4 separate regions of the Homo sapiens genome follow, and all the other regions are linked to region 3. The links are contacts of gene promoters, found by promoter capture Hi-C in blood cells and fetal thymus (Javierre and others, 2016). All regions are on one chromosome and are shown on one strand. The core of a region is centred on a gene start or on the middle of the fragment in contact, and the rest is flanking DNA. Distances in the headings are between cores, read along the strand shown. Region 1 overlaps LOC105371244 (a long non-coding RNA gene). Region 2 overlaps NKD1 (NKD inhibitor of Wnt signaling pathway 1). Region 3 holds the start of CNEP1R1 (CTD nuclear envelope phosphatase 1 regulatory subunit 1). Region 4 has its middle 5.9 kb from the start of NKD1.

The links. Contacts are between HindIII fragments. The CHiCAGO score rates a contact against its expected background, and 5 or more counts as called.
Region 1: a contact is called between a fragment that was not itself captured here and the fragment with the promoter of CNEP1R1 in region 3, in 1 of 17 cell types (fetal thymus). The highest score is 5.1, in fetal thymus.
Region 2: a fragment that was not itself captured here is called in contact with the fragment with the promoter of CNEP1R1 in region 3 in 4 of 17 cell types (total CD8 T cells, naive CD8 T cells, monocytes and 1 more); the score reaches 8.2 in total CD8 T cells.
Region 4: a fragment that was not itself captured here is called in contact with the fragment with the promoter of CNEP1R1 in region 3 in 2 of 17 cell types (total CD8 T cells and activated CD4 T cells); the score reaches 6.2 in total CD8 T cells.

The regions. Positions count from the first base shown.
Region 1 is chr16:49,435,794-49,438,946 of GRCh38, reverse strand. The region is part of intron 2 of LOC105371244 (a long non-coding RNA gene); the gene reads left to right. Among named protein-coding and RNA genes, the nearest start is that of LINC02179, 29 kb to the left of the region's middle. The HindIII fragment of the contact is 4,036 bases long and covers 1-3,153 here.
Region 2 is chr16:50,558,657-50,561,723 of GRCh38, reverse strand. The region is part of intron 3 of NKD1 (NKD inhibitor of Wnt signaling pathway 1); the gene reads right to left. Among named protein-coding and RNA genes, the nearest start is that of NKD1, 12 kb to the right of the region's middle. The HindIII fragment of the contact is 5,014 bases long and covers 1-3,067 here.
Region 3 is chr16:50,023,130-50,026,479 of GRCh38, reverse strand. It overlaps CNEP1R1 (CTD nuclear envelope phosphatase 1 regulatory subunit 1), which reads right to left and starts at 1,255. Exons shown (of 6, transcript NM_001281789.2): 1 at 1,140-1,255; 2 at 13-84. The coding sequence starts at 1,164. RefSeq lists a silencer at 942-1,251 and an enhancer at 1,065-1,566. The HindIII fragment of the contact is 11,127 bases long and covers 337-3,350 here.
Region 4 is chr16:50,540,901-50,544,077 of GRCh38, reverse strand. No RefSeq gene overlaps it. Among named protein-coding and RNA genes, the nearest start is that of NKD1, 5.9 kb to the left of the region's middle. The HindIII fragment of the contact is 1,439 bases long and covers 1,198-2,636 here.

The DNA of each region.
Region 1 (3,153 bases), core at 457-2,956, 590 kb after region 3:
ATATCAGTTGACCTTGAGAATTAGACCAAGAAGCCTGGGGTTATTCTTCCAACTTCCACTGCAGATTCTTCTGATGTGTTTGGAAACACAATCTACTCCTCATCGCCCTGAAGTGGGCAGGGGGAAAAGAGAAAACAAAGATCCCGACCTGCTCTGATTTTTAGAAAATACATCTGGGCAATTTCAGGCGACGGGAGGCTCTTTCCCTCTCAGTTCTGCTCCCCCACCACTGCCTCTCCCCCAAGATCCTGGATCTTTCCTGCCAGGAAGAGTCCTCCTCTAGGTCCTACGGGATCTCCTTGCTGCAGCCTCTCCTTGCCCCACCACCCTGCTGGGTCAAGCTCCCAAAACCAGAGCAGACGGCGCTTCTCTAGTTCCCTCACTGGCTCCTCATTGCCTGCTGGTAAACCCCAGACTCCTAAGCCTGGCATTCAAGGCCCACAATTCAAGCTCATCTGCATCCTCAAATACAGGATCGGAGCTGATGGATCTTTCCTGCCAACACAACCCCTGAAAGTGTGTGGCACAGACGGACTGCACGCCTTGGTACATATGACATTTTTTTGTTTGTTTTTGAGACAGAGTCTCTCTCTGTCACCCAGGCTGGAGTGCAGTGGTGCGATCTCGGCTCATTGCAACCTCCCCTCCTGGACTCAAGTGATTCTCCTGCCTCAGCCCCCCAGTAGCTGGGGTTAAAGGCAACTGTCACCACACCTGGCTAATTTTTGTATTTTTAGTAGAGACGGGGTTTCACCATGTGGGCCAGGCTGGTTTCAAACTCCTGACCTGAAGTGATCCACCAGCCTCGGCCTCCCAGAGTGCTGGGATTATAGGTGTGAGCCACTGTGCCTGTCCCACATCATGTTTTTGTACCTCTATGCCTCTGCTCACCATCCTTTCCTCCTGAAACATCCCTGGCCACCTCACTCCTCTGAGCTGTGCCAGCTCCATTTACTTGCATTTACTAGTTTACTAGACCTTTCTGCAGCTTGGATTCTGTTCTGTTGTGGTTATTGCTAGGAACAAGACAGATCCGGTCTCTATCCATAGTGAGCTTCCATTCCAGGAAAGGAAAAAGACAGTAACCAAGAAAACAGATAAAAACTAGCGGGGACATCCCAAGGTGATAAACTTTGAAGGAAATAAGTAGTGTGATGTCTTGGGGAACTTGGGGTAGGGGCTCTTTTCCTGGGGGGGTCTCAGGGAGGGTCCCTGAGCATGATATTTGGGCTGAGACCTGAAGGATGAGAGGCAACAAGACCTGCAGAAAAGTGGGGGGAAGGAAGCTCAGCCCCAAAGCTCTGGGGAGGGAAGGGCTTTGTTGTTCTAGGAACCAAGGTGAGGAGGGCACTGTGCTCACCAGAAGGACTGCATTGCAGGCCACGGGAAGGCAGCAGAGGGCGGCACTTCCGAGCCGGAGCCCCAGGGTGGATGGCTGGGCTCAAATACACTGTGCGGCTGTGTGACCTTGGCAAGTTTTCTAACTTCTCTGTGCCTCAATTTCCTCATCTGAAAAATGGGGATACATTATAAAGAGTACATGAGTTCATATTGCACATTGTTTAGAATTATGTGTGTGTATTCATTCACTAAATTGTCCAGGAACTTGTACACATTTTATTTAGGTCTTCATTTTTACAAGTTGTAACCAGTGATCACTGGTTACAATTGGAAGCCAGCAAGCACTTGTTCTTGGGATGGAATAGAACAAAATAAAGAGCCTAGATGTGAACCTCGGGAAATCCGAGCCAGCTGAACCTTGCCCGAGTCCCAGGCCCACTCTCTGGAGAGTGGCAGAGGATCCTGCCTGGAATTTCTGGGGACCAAAACCATTGAAAAGAGCCCTGCAATGTACCCCCTTCTCAGGAGGAACAGCCAGGCACCCGTTTGGGGAGGAGAAGAGGGTGATTTCACCAGGGCTGGTGGGGAATGTGTGATAAGCCAGGATACAATGTGGCTTGAATCTTTGCCCTTGTTGGACGGGAATATGAAATTAAGCATTCAGACCTGGAAATCCTGTTTCTCCCAGGATTCTGCTCCTTTGGAAGACAGCACCTCTCCTAGCACAAAGGGAGAGGAAGCAGCTGATGGAGCTGAAAGAAAAGGAGTTCCTGGGATGAAGGAAGATATAAGATTGTTAGGGGGAGAGATGAGAGGAGACACGTGGAGGGAGAGAGAGACCGAGAAACGGAGGAATGGAATCCCAAAGGAGTGTGTGTGTGGAGAGAGAGAAAGAAACAGGAGGCAGGGACACACACAGATGGACAGACAGTGAGAAGCAGAGACAGAGAAAGATGGAGACATTGAGACAGGCAGAGACAAGCAGAAAGAAACTGAGAATAAAAGACCTTGGGGCACAGAAAGAGAGACAGGAGCGAAGAAAACTAGACACAGAGACAGAGCAAGGGAGAAGGCCAAGGGTGAAAAGTCTCAACTGGACCCCTTTGACTACAGCCATTTGCCTGAAATAAAGCTCGCACTGTCTTCCAAGGTTGTGTTGGGAAAAAGTTATTTCTTTTGCAGCCACTTCCAGCACACACTCTCCAGCAACCCCTCCTTCCCCCGGGCATGCACGGGTACCTACGTGTGCACGAACAGGTGCACACACTCACCATGTCCCAAGGCACATGTCTGCTCCCCCAAAACCCAGGATCATTGATTCCCCTGGGTTTCATGCTCTTTTCTGTCCCATCTGTATTTGAAACTCTTTTGCTCGAGTCTAGAGAGTGTGTGCCCTCACCTTAACAAGGCTTGGAATGTTATCTTTGATTTTAACAAACAATAAGCACGTGGGTCCTGGATTCTTTCCATTTGCTTTGGGACCCCTTTCAGTCCGGTTTTGTACCTAGTGGCTGGGACTGTCCTCTTCAGTAGGTGTCCCCTGTTGCTGGTGGGCTCACCTGCCACCACCAACACTTCTCTGTTTCTGGCTTCTGGAATTTTTGCAGTAGATTTAGCCTGAGGCTGGTTCCATGGGAAGCCCAGAACCTGGGGTACCAGAGTAAGGCTAGGCCAGATGGGGAGCAGGCCAGGTTCTCTAGAAGCTGAAAACTTGAAATCATCCCCTTTCTTCAGCTTTCTTGAAATACGGTTTCCCAGGCACCCCTCTGACCCTCGCCCACCTCTGTCCTGACTCCTGATGTTGACTGTGAC
Region 2 (3,067 bases), core at 454-2,953, 530 kb before region 3:
CAGGCCTAAACCTTAAAGAGTCCTGGCCGTTTTTGCTTCTATACTCTTGGGAAAGACAGCCACCATGTAAATCTGATTACCCTGAGACTGCCATACTGTGAGGAAGCCCAAGCTACTCATGAGGTGAGGCCAACTAGAAGAGAACTGAAGCCCCAGACATGTCACTTATTTGGAGCTGCTGCAGTCAGACCCTTGCTGTTAGAGCCACCCTAACTGTGCTACATGGAGCCACAGACAAGTTGACCCTCCCAGGCTTGGTCCAAAGTGCATACTCTTAAGCAAGTCACAAAGTGATCAAGTCACTAATCTTTGGACTTTTTTTTTTTTTTTACAGCAGTAGAAACAAAGCCTTCTCCTTTCCTTTAATGCATTTTTGAGAGGAGGAAGCAGAAGGCAGGAGAGGTCATAATAGATACCTCATAGCTAAGCTGGAGGCACCCCCAGGCTCAGGGTTCCCAGCGCAGCATTGTGTCCAACCCCTGATGACTGAGCCATGTCTGTGTTTCTCCTGGGATGAAGCTGCTGCTGTTGGCTTCTCAGGGGAGAAGCCATGGGCCCCCCCTCCATGGGACTGCTCATCCTCTTCATTCCCTAAGCAAAGGGAGTGAGCCAGCAGCAAGCACCCACAGCATCCCTGGGAGCACTGACCCAGGCCCAAAAGTCAACAAACCAAACAGCTCAGAAAGCACAGAGAGGTCAGGAAAGTTGCCCTAGGTCACACTGCTAGTGAGAAGTAGAGCCAGGGCTCAAAACCAGGCATTCAGGCTCAGGGCCTGCACCAGTGACCCACACCAGCGTTTTTCTAATACTCTGATTATGACCTATAGTAAGAATTATATTTTACAATATGCCTCTGCTGTAGATAGATAGATAGATAGATAGATAGATAGATAGATAGATGGGTTTGGGTATAGGTGTGTGTAAAGTGTGTGTATACATTTTTTTTAACTAGAACAAAAAATTACACAAAACAATATTTACTCTTACTATATATAATGTTTTCTCATATTTTTACTCTATTTCATTTTGGTCACTAAATTGATGTCATGAACCATGAATGGGGCTGAGACATACAGTTGAAAAAAAAAAAAAAACTCGCCTAAACTGATTTAAGATGGCTCTAAAATCACACTGAGTGATCTGAATTTGAATCTTGCTGAAGCAAGATTCCACTTCCAAGTTAAGTGACCTTGGGCAATATGGTTGACTTCTTTAAAGCCTCAGTTTCCCTATGGGTAAGATGGGCATAATAATAACAGCGGCCTCATAACAGTGCTCTGAGAATCCAGCACTATGAACAGTGCTTGGCCCAGAGCCTGGCACACAGCAGACACGCAGCAAGCAGCAGCTACGCTGTTACCACCTCCTCCTCGGGCTGCAGCTCCCAGACTCAGCACGGGGCTATGCACACAGTGGGCAGCTCGCGGGCACACTGAGCCTGCAGCCACTGAGAAAGCAGGCACGTGCCCAGGACCAGCTGAGGCAGTGGGTGCCTTTGGACTTTCCAGGGCAGGGAGGAAGCAGAGAAAGTCCCCAGTGCCCGCTGAAAAGGCAACTTTGTTCCTGGATTATAGTAGTTCTCTTCAATCATCTTTTTGCCTTTGAAGGGGGAAAGAAGGGTAAAACAACAAAGTCAGGGTCAAAAACTGTCCTGGAACAAGGCTCCCTCTGGAAACCAGGCATGGAATGGGCATGGCACCACACACCAGCACCCCCAAACCCACTCACTGGAGCCACCGCAAGCCGAGGCCTCTGAGTGAGGGGCCCACCAGCCCACGCAGCCTTCTGAAGTTAGAAAAACATCCTCCGGCCTGAGCCCATTAGGGAGGCTGTGGCCTGAGGGAAGACAGCCCCATCCTGCTAACAGGGTCCTTTTATGCTCTGCCTCTCCCCTCCTCAGGACCCCAGCTCTATGCTCAAGGCCAGAAGGCTTGGGCAGCCCAGCAGGCCAGCCAATCCGCTCCAGGGTGACACTATTTCTTGTGACTGAGAGGTTCTCCTCCCTACCTCTTCCAACCTGACCAGAAAGCTGGAGTCCACAGACACCAGTAACACTTCATGGAAGACTTGCGGCAAGGAGACAAGGCCTCATGACGGGATGCAACATACAGTGGTACCACCCAGCCCAGCAGGCACTGCCCACTCCCTGCTGCTGCACCACATAGTTCTGCTCTAACACCTCAGAGACTGGAATGTGGTTCCAAGTCAGACACCGAGAAGGAGGCTGAACACTTTCTCTGTGCACCAACCCTGCATGCCTCTTGCCCTTTGCACATCCCGTGCCTTCTGCCTGGAATATTTTTAATAAACCTTTCCCCACCTAGCTATTTCCTATTTATTCTTTGGGTCTTAACGACTTACGCATCACTCCCTAATCTGAAGTAGAATCCTCCGTTATTCTCCTTCCCCATCCTTTTCCTTCACTGCACTTAGCACACTGGTACCACACTGAGCACACATCCAGGTGATCACTAGCAAACAACACTGGCAAGCTGCAAAAGAAGGGGTGACATCTCCTTTATTCTTTAACTTGCTGAAATGAACCCATTTCTACCCTTAAAACAACCCAATGAGGTAGGAACCATTACTCTACCCATTCCACAGATGTGAAAACTGAGAATCAGAGATGAGCCATCACTTGGCCCAAGGCCACCGAGCTGGGGAGAAGTGCAGCTGGGACTCAGACCCAGGAAGTCTGATTCTGCAAGTTCTAAGCACACCTCTGGCACCTTCTATGGGCACATGCTGGTCTTCAGCATAAAGTCTCCCAGCCCACATCTTTGTTTTGTTGTTTGTTTGTTTGTTTGTTTGTTTGAGACAGAGTTTCACTCTTGTCACCCAGGCTGGAGTGCAATGGCACGATCTTGGCTCACTGCAACCTCCATCTCCCGGGTTCAAGGAATTCTCCTGCTTCAGCCTCCCAAGTAGCTGGGATTACAGGTGCCTGCCACCATGCCCGGCTATTTTTTTTTTCTTTCTTTTCTTTCTTTTTTTTTTTTTTTTTGTATTTTTAGCAGAGACGGGGTTTCGTCATGTTGGCCAGGCTGGTCTCAAACTCCTGACCTCA
Region 3 (3,350 bases), core at 6-2,505:
TCAGGAACTTACTTCTCCAGCGTCCAGTAGCAGGTTGCAAACAATGAATATATTCAGTAAGTCTCCTCTCAAAAGCCTTGAGATCTAGGTATAAAGATGTCAATTTTCTAATTAGCCACTCTTACTCGTCTGACGAAATGTCAGAGTATTTACCTAACATTAAGACGACATGTGAGATACTCTTAACTGCTTCAGGTCTTACACACTAACTTCCATGTATCACTGCACTGTTTATTTCATTTACTATGACAGCTTTTTAAGCACTTGACAAAAAATTAGGGCTCTTTAATTCCAATTTCTCATATAAGAAAACTTGCTGATTTACTTTTAGAAGCTTCATAAATGGTATTGGGAGAAATAAGCAGCAGCCTCGGCCAGCGCCAAAAGCGAACATTTTCAGGGTTGCAAATAAAATTAAAATCAGGTCGAGTTTTAGCTCTCTGGGAACCAAGAACTTCCTATTAGAACCACGTAGTGCCTAACATCAAAGTCTTCGAGGTCTACCTGACTGCAATTACCCGCCTCCGGTTTCCAGCTCTTATATTTAATTAATGGCTACGCCGTCTGGCCTTACTAGACTTCTTGACACTGATAGCGAGTGGGTGTGGAAAGACATTCCCCTTGCCCCCTCCGAAGGGGTACAGGTGATCTTCGTGGCACCCAGGCAGCGCCTAGTTCTAGAAGACAGGGGCGTCTAAGCTGCTCCGAGTGAGTGGTGGGGTATCCTTTCCGCAGTGGTGTGCTTTAAACTTTAAAACACCGAGCAGCACTTCCTAACCTTGGCAGTTACCGGAAACCACCGCAGGAATCAGGGATACAACTCGCGGGGCTGTGAGAATGAAATGAAATGAATTAGCAGGCTGCAATGCACGAAGTGCAAGTGTCTGCCAGTGAAAAGAAAATAAAAATAGAAGCTGGCGAGGAGGTCGACCCTCTAGGTTTGTGGGGACTCAGGGAGCTGAGGCACCGCCCCCCGCGTCTGGCCAGGTACGGCCGCCTACGCGCCCCCAAGCTCCGGGCCCCTAGCTCCATCCTCTGCGGCCTCCTCCCGGGGCGGGGGTCTTCACGACGCCGGCTCCTCCGGAGCACCGCCAGCTTCCGAGGGGAGACGGGGGACGGGCCCGGGCGGCCCACCCTACCTTCCGCCTGCTCCAGCGAGTTCATGTCGGGCGGCAGCTCGGGTCACCGCCGCTGCCCTGTCCGCATCGCAGCTTCCGCGGCCCCCGCCCGGCCCGCAGCGCCAACTCCCACCTCTAACCGCTCCCCGCTGCCCCTCCCCGTCGCACCGCCCCTTGCCTAGACCCGCTACGCTCATTGGATTCCTCTACTAGACCTCCAACTAAGACAGCTTTCTATTGGCTGTCTCTTGCACCGGCCTCGGCGCCTAGCGTTGGACGGTCAGCCGGAGGGACCAAGAACTGCCGGCGGCCAGGCGGGCGTAACGCTGGCGTCGCCTGCTGCCCCGGGGAGGAACTGCAGCCCTCCGGAGCCAGTTCGTTCATTCATTTATCCCCCGTTCCCCGCTTGGTTCTTTCATTCGTCAAATGTTGATTGAGCGCCCACTACCTTCCAGGCATTATTCTGGTCGCTAGCGAGGGATACAGAAATCAAAGAGCTGGTTCTGTCCTCAAGGATCTCAAGGAGTAATGAAATCTGTACAGAACTAACTAGAACCCTAAATAACCAGTTTCCTTAATTATGGTATCCTAGATAACCAACCCCTTAAGTAAACACTTCTCTCTTGGTTACTTTCCTCTCACATCACCCAGCTTTCATAATTCCTAAATGAGGCAAAGTGTAAGCCCAAATACCTATAACTTAAGAAGAGATCTGTAAGGGATTGACTACATTTGTATTTGATCACAAGGCCTTCTTGTTCATTTATTGGTGGCATTCTTTCATTCAAAATCATTTTATTGCCTAACATGCTAGACACTGTATTGATACGCGTGTGAGCCAGGTAGACAGGATTCCTGCCCGCAAAGAGGAAGGGCTACAGCAGGCAACAAACATGCAAATAAGTAATTGATTTCAAATAAGAATAGTTGTGTTAAAATAGAGATCCTGGCCGGGCGCGGTGGCTCACGCCTGTTAATCCCAACACTCTGGGAGGCTGAGGCGCGTGGATCACTTGAGGTCAGGAGTTGAGACCAGCCTGGGCAACATGACAAAACCCTGTTTCTACTGAAAATACAAAAAAATTATCCAGACGTGGTGGTGCATGCCTGTAATCCCAGCTCTTTGGGAGGCTGAGGCACGAGAGTCACTTGAACCCAGGAGACGGAGGTTGCAGTGAGCCACTGCACTCCAGCCTGGGTGACAGCGTGAGACTGTCAAAAAAGAAAAAGAAAAAAAAAAGAATCTAAGACTGATGGGCTAGATTTTTTTGTGGCAGTAACATACCAACTTATAAACAAGACCTAAGGCCCTGCCAGGCAAGGGTTAAATCACTCAAGACCCAGACACTTAAAGAATAAACGATGTTCTAACTGCCACAATGTTCGTTTTTTTCCTCTAGCAGCTAAACAAGCAATATTAAAACAATTGCAGCTTACCAAGTACCAGTCACTGACTAACTGATCCCTTTGTTCCACAAGCCATAACTCCTGCTTTCATTAGACAAGAGACTGATTTCAGTAACTTTCTCCTGATAAGAGACCACCCACCATAGATTGGCCCTAGCCAGTCTACAGAGGCTGCACAATGAGTGCCTTTATGTTCTCTGCTTCGCCTTTTGACGTAAAGGGTCTAACTGTAATGCATTTAAATGTTAAGTCTCTACCCCAAAGTGAACATGTGACCCATGTAACATGCATGATTGTTTATTATGCATGTGTGCACCCCTCTTTCCTGAATAGCTTCTCCTATAACCTGTTAAATATGTATACTTGGCCAACCCATTTGGCATAAATTCCTGCTTCACCCTTCCTCCTTCAAAGTGCCTGCTTTTGGTCTCTGCCAGAGACCATACTTCCCAGCCTATAAGGATGGCCAGCCTGCAGGCTCCAACCCTTCAGAAATAAACCTCTTTAGGCCAGGCACAGTGGCTGATGCCTGTAATTCCAACACTTTGGGAGGCTGAAGTGGGAGGATCACTTGAGTCCAGGAGTTCCAGACCAACCTGGGCAACATAGTGAGATTCTGTCTCTACAAAAAACAAACAAACAAACAAAAAACATTTAAAAATTAGCTGGGCATGGTGGCATGTGGCTGTGGTCCCAGATACTCAGGAGGCTGAGGCAGGAAGATTGCTTGAACCCAGGAGTTCGGCGCTGCAGTGAGTTATGATTGCACCACTGCACTCCAGCTGGGGCAACAGAGCAAGACCCTGTCTCAACAAACAAACAAAC
Region 4 (3,177 bases), core at 668-3,167, 520 kb before region 3:
ACCCTGCAGGAGAAAAGATGGGAGCCAGAGGCAGCCAGGAGGCCTCAGGCCTTAGATATGAGATGGAGGAGGCTGGGCTTCCCCAAGAACTAGGGCTGGGGTCTCCAAGCCATTCTGTTTGGGTACTAAAGGCAGAGGGAACAGCACATGTAAAGGCCCTGAAGTGGAGACTGCCATGGATGTTTTGGAAACAGCAAAGAGGCCCCTGGCTCTGGAGCAGAGAGAGCATGGTTTGGGAGTAGAGGGGAGAAGATGAGGTTGGAGATGACTGGGCCAAAAGACTGCTGCTTGAGTACAGTCTGGATGTGGGGTTGAATTGAATTGAATTTGTGTACCACCAACTCCTCCTGGGTTCAGGATGTTTGAGCAAGTTTAGAGCACAGGCTTCCCAGGTGAGCCTGGAGGAGAGGGAAAGCCAGCCCAGCCTCCCCATCTCCTTGGCAGGTGCCTTGTTCTCCTCCCAGCCCTGCCTCTCTGCTCTTCTTCACACTGGGCAGAGAAGCTATATTAGTCCGTTCTCAGGCTGCTACAAGAACATACCGGAACTGGGCAATTTATAAAGGAAAGAGGTTTAATTGACTCACAGTTCTACATGGCTGGGGAGGCCTCAGGAAACTTACAATCATGACAGAAGGAGAAGCAAACACGTCCCTCTTCACATAGCAGCAGGAGAGAGAGGTGCCGAGCAAAGGGGAAAAGCCCCTTATAAAACCATCAGATCCTGTGAGAACTCACTATCACAAGAACAGCATGGGATTAACTGCCCTCATGATTCAATTACCTCCACCTGATCCTGCCCTTGACATATGGGGATCATTACAACTCAAGGTGAGATTTGGGTGGGAACACAGAGCCAAACCATATCAGAAGCCTTTCTAGTCACAGTACCAGTCTTTGACTATTCCCAGACTTTGTTAACAAAAGAGCAAAAGAAGCCCCTATCTTTTTAAGCCTTTGTTTTTCAGTTACATGCAGCCAACCAGACCACCACACAGCCTCTCCACCTATAAAATAGAAGGAAGGGTCCAGAAGATTAGCATTTCCCGTAATGGGTTCCCCCGACCACTGGTTTGTGAGATGCTATTATTATGTGCAAGAAAGGACTCCATGAGAAACTTTGGGCAGCCCTAGCTTAGCCAAAAGAAGACAAGTTTTTTCCTGCAGGACTTGTCAGAGCTTTCATTGAGTAGCCAAGCTTTGTGATTCTCTAAATGGAGAGCATCGTCATAAGCAGGGTTTCTTAAACTCACCAGACCAGGAAACCATTTCTGGAAAACAAGTTCATGGAACATGCTTTGGAAAATACTGGACCAGATGACTTTTAAGGTTTCTTCCCATCTGAGATTCCAACTACTGACTCCAGGAGCCTAGACTGGGAGGGTGATAGGAAGGAAAGCTCAGTGAGGGGAGAGCCAGTGTGGAAAGGTTCCCTGAAGGAGACCATCTGCAAGTGTTGATGGTGTGTGTTTCATGTGTTTTTGGACATATTTGTCCACTTATAGCCCTCTGTAAGTATTCAGCAAATGAACACTTACTATGCAAGTGCCTCCCATTGGTACACAGTTCTTAAGGCCACAGCTCAAGGAGTGAAGGAAAAGTGGTCACTATAGCAAAGCTCATAGTTAATTTTCCTGTATCACCTGCCTTCCCTTCCAGCTTAGCTTCCTCCTCCTCTTCCTTCTTCCATGGCACAGAACACAGCTTCAAGGTGGCCCCTGCCACCACGTTGGTAACACCTGACTCCTTCACCCCTTAGCCAGAGCTGACTGGATGCCTGACCCATTGGCCCAACCCATCAGGATCTCTTTGCAGAATCTGAATGGAGAGGCCAGGGGCCTGCAGTCCACTTCCTGGTGGTCTCTACAGCTGTAGAGCTCCATAGTCCCAGGGGTTGGAGCAGCTTCTTGGGGTCGCTGTGGGCTGAAAAATAAGCAGGAAGAAGCAGGAGTAAGAACCATTAGGGGAAAGCAATGATAGTAAACCCCATGGAGAGAGAGACACAGACAGACTGGTCCCTGACTAACTGTATATGCTGACCTTGGATCCCTCCCTGTAAGACTCTTAATCCCCCTTTCTTGAGCTAGGGTCAAATAGCCTAGAGGAGGGCTCCCTGGAATTTAATGTGCATATGAATTCACCGGGATCTTGTTGAGATGCAGTGTGAGTGGAGCCTGAGAGTCATTTCTCACCAGCTCCCAGGTGAGGCTGATGGTGCTGGTGTATAGACCACACACAGTTGGAGGCTCTAGAAAGTTAAGCCTTCTCAGAAGCAACCAAGGTTACATAGCTTGCCCTTGCCTCGCATAAGCAGCCATGCTGGGGAGGAGATGGAGAGGCCAAAGTCAGGGAGGAGGCAACCAAGAAATAAAGGTGGGTGCTTCTCTTTTATTTATCATGTCATTCAGTGAAGATTTGTTGGGCGCCTAATTTACATCAGGCTCTTGTGTCCACAAAACAGACAAAAATGCCATCCTCATGAAGTTTATATTCTCATAGAGGAAGACAGACAATAAATACATAAGTCAGTGAAATATGTGGTGTGTCTATGGGAGAAAAAATTCAAGTGATAAAGAGAAAGAAAAAATACCAGGGCAGGAGCTAATGATTTTAGATAGACAGGTCAGAGAGGATAAGCTTTGTGCAAAGACTTGAAAATGAGGAAGAAACAGAGGGAACAGCATGTGCAAAGGGCCTGAGGTAAGGATATGCCAGGAATGTTTTGGAAACAGCAAAGAGGCCCCCGGCTCTGGAGCAGAGAGACCACAGTTTGGGAGTATTGGGGAGAAGATGAGGTTGGAGGTGACGGGGACAGATCATGAGACCCTTATAGGTCTCATCAAAAACTTCAGCTTTCCTGGAGAAAGACAGGAGTTACTAGAAGAGAGTTGTGGCTGGGCATGGTGGCTCATGCCTGTAATCCCAGCACTTTGGGAAGCTGAGGTGGGTTGATCCCTTGCAACCAGAAGATTGAGGCCAGCCTGGGTAACATGACAAAATCCTGTCTCCACAAAAAATAATTTTAAAAAGTAGCCAGGTATGGTGATGCATGTCTGTATTCCAAGCTACTAGGGAGGCTGAGGTGGGAGGATTGCTGGAGCCCAGGAGGCAGAGGTTGCAGTGAGCTGAGACTGCACCACTGCACTCAAGCCTGGGCAACAGAGTGAGACCCTGTCTCAA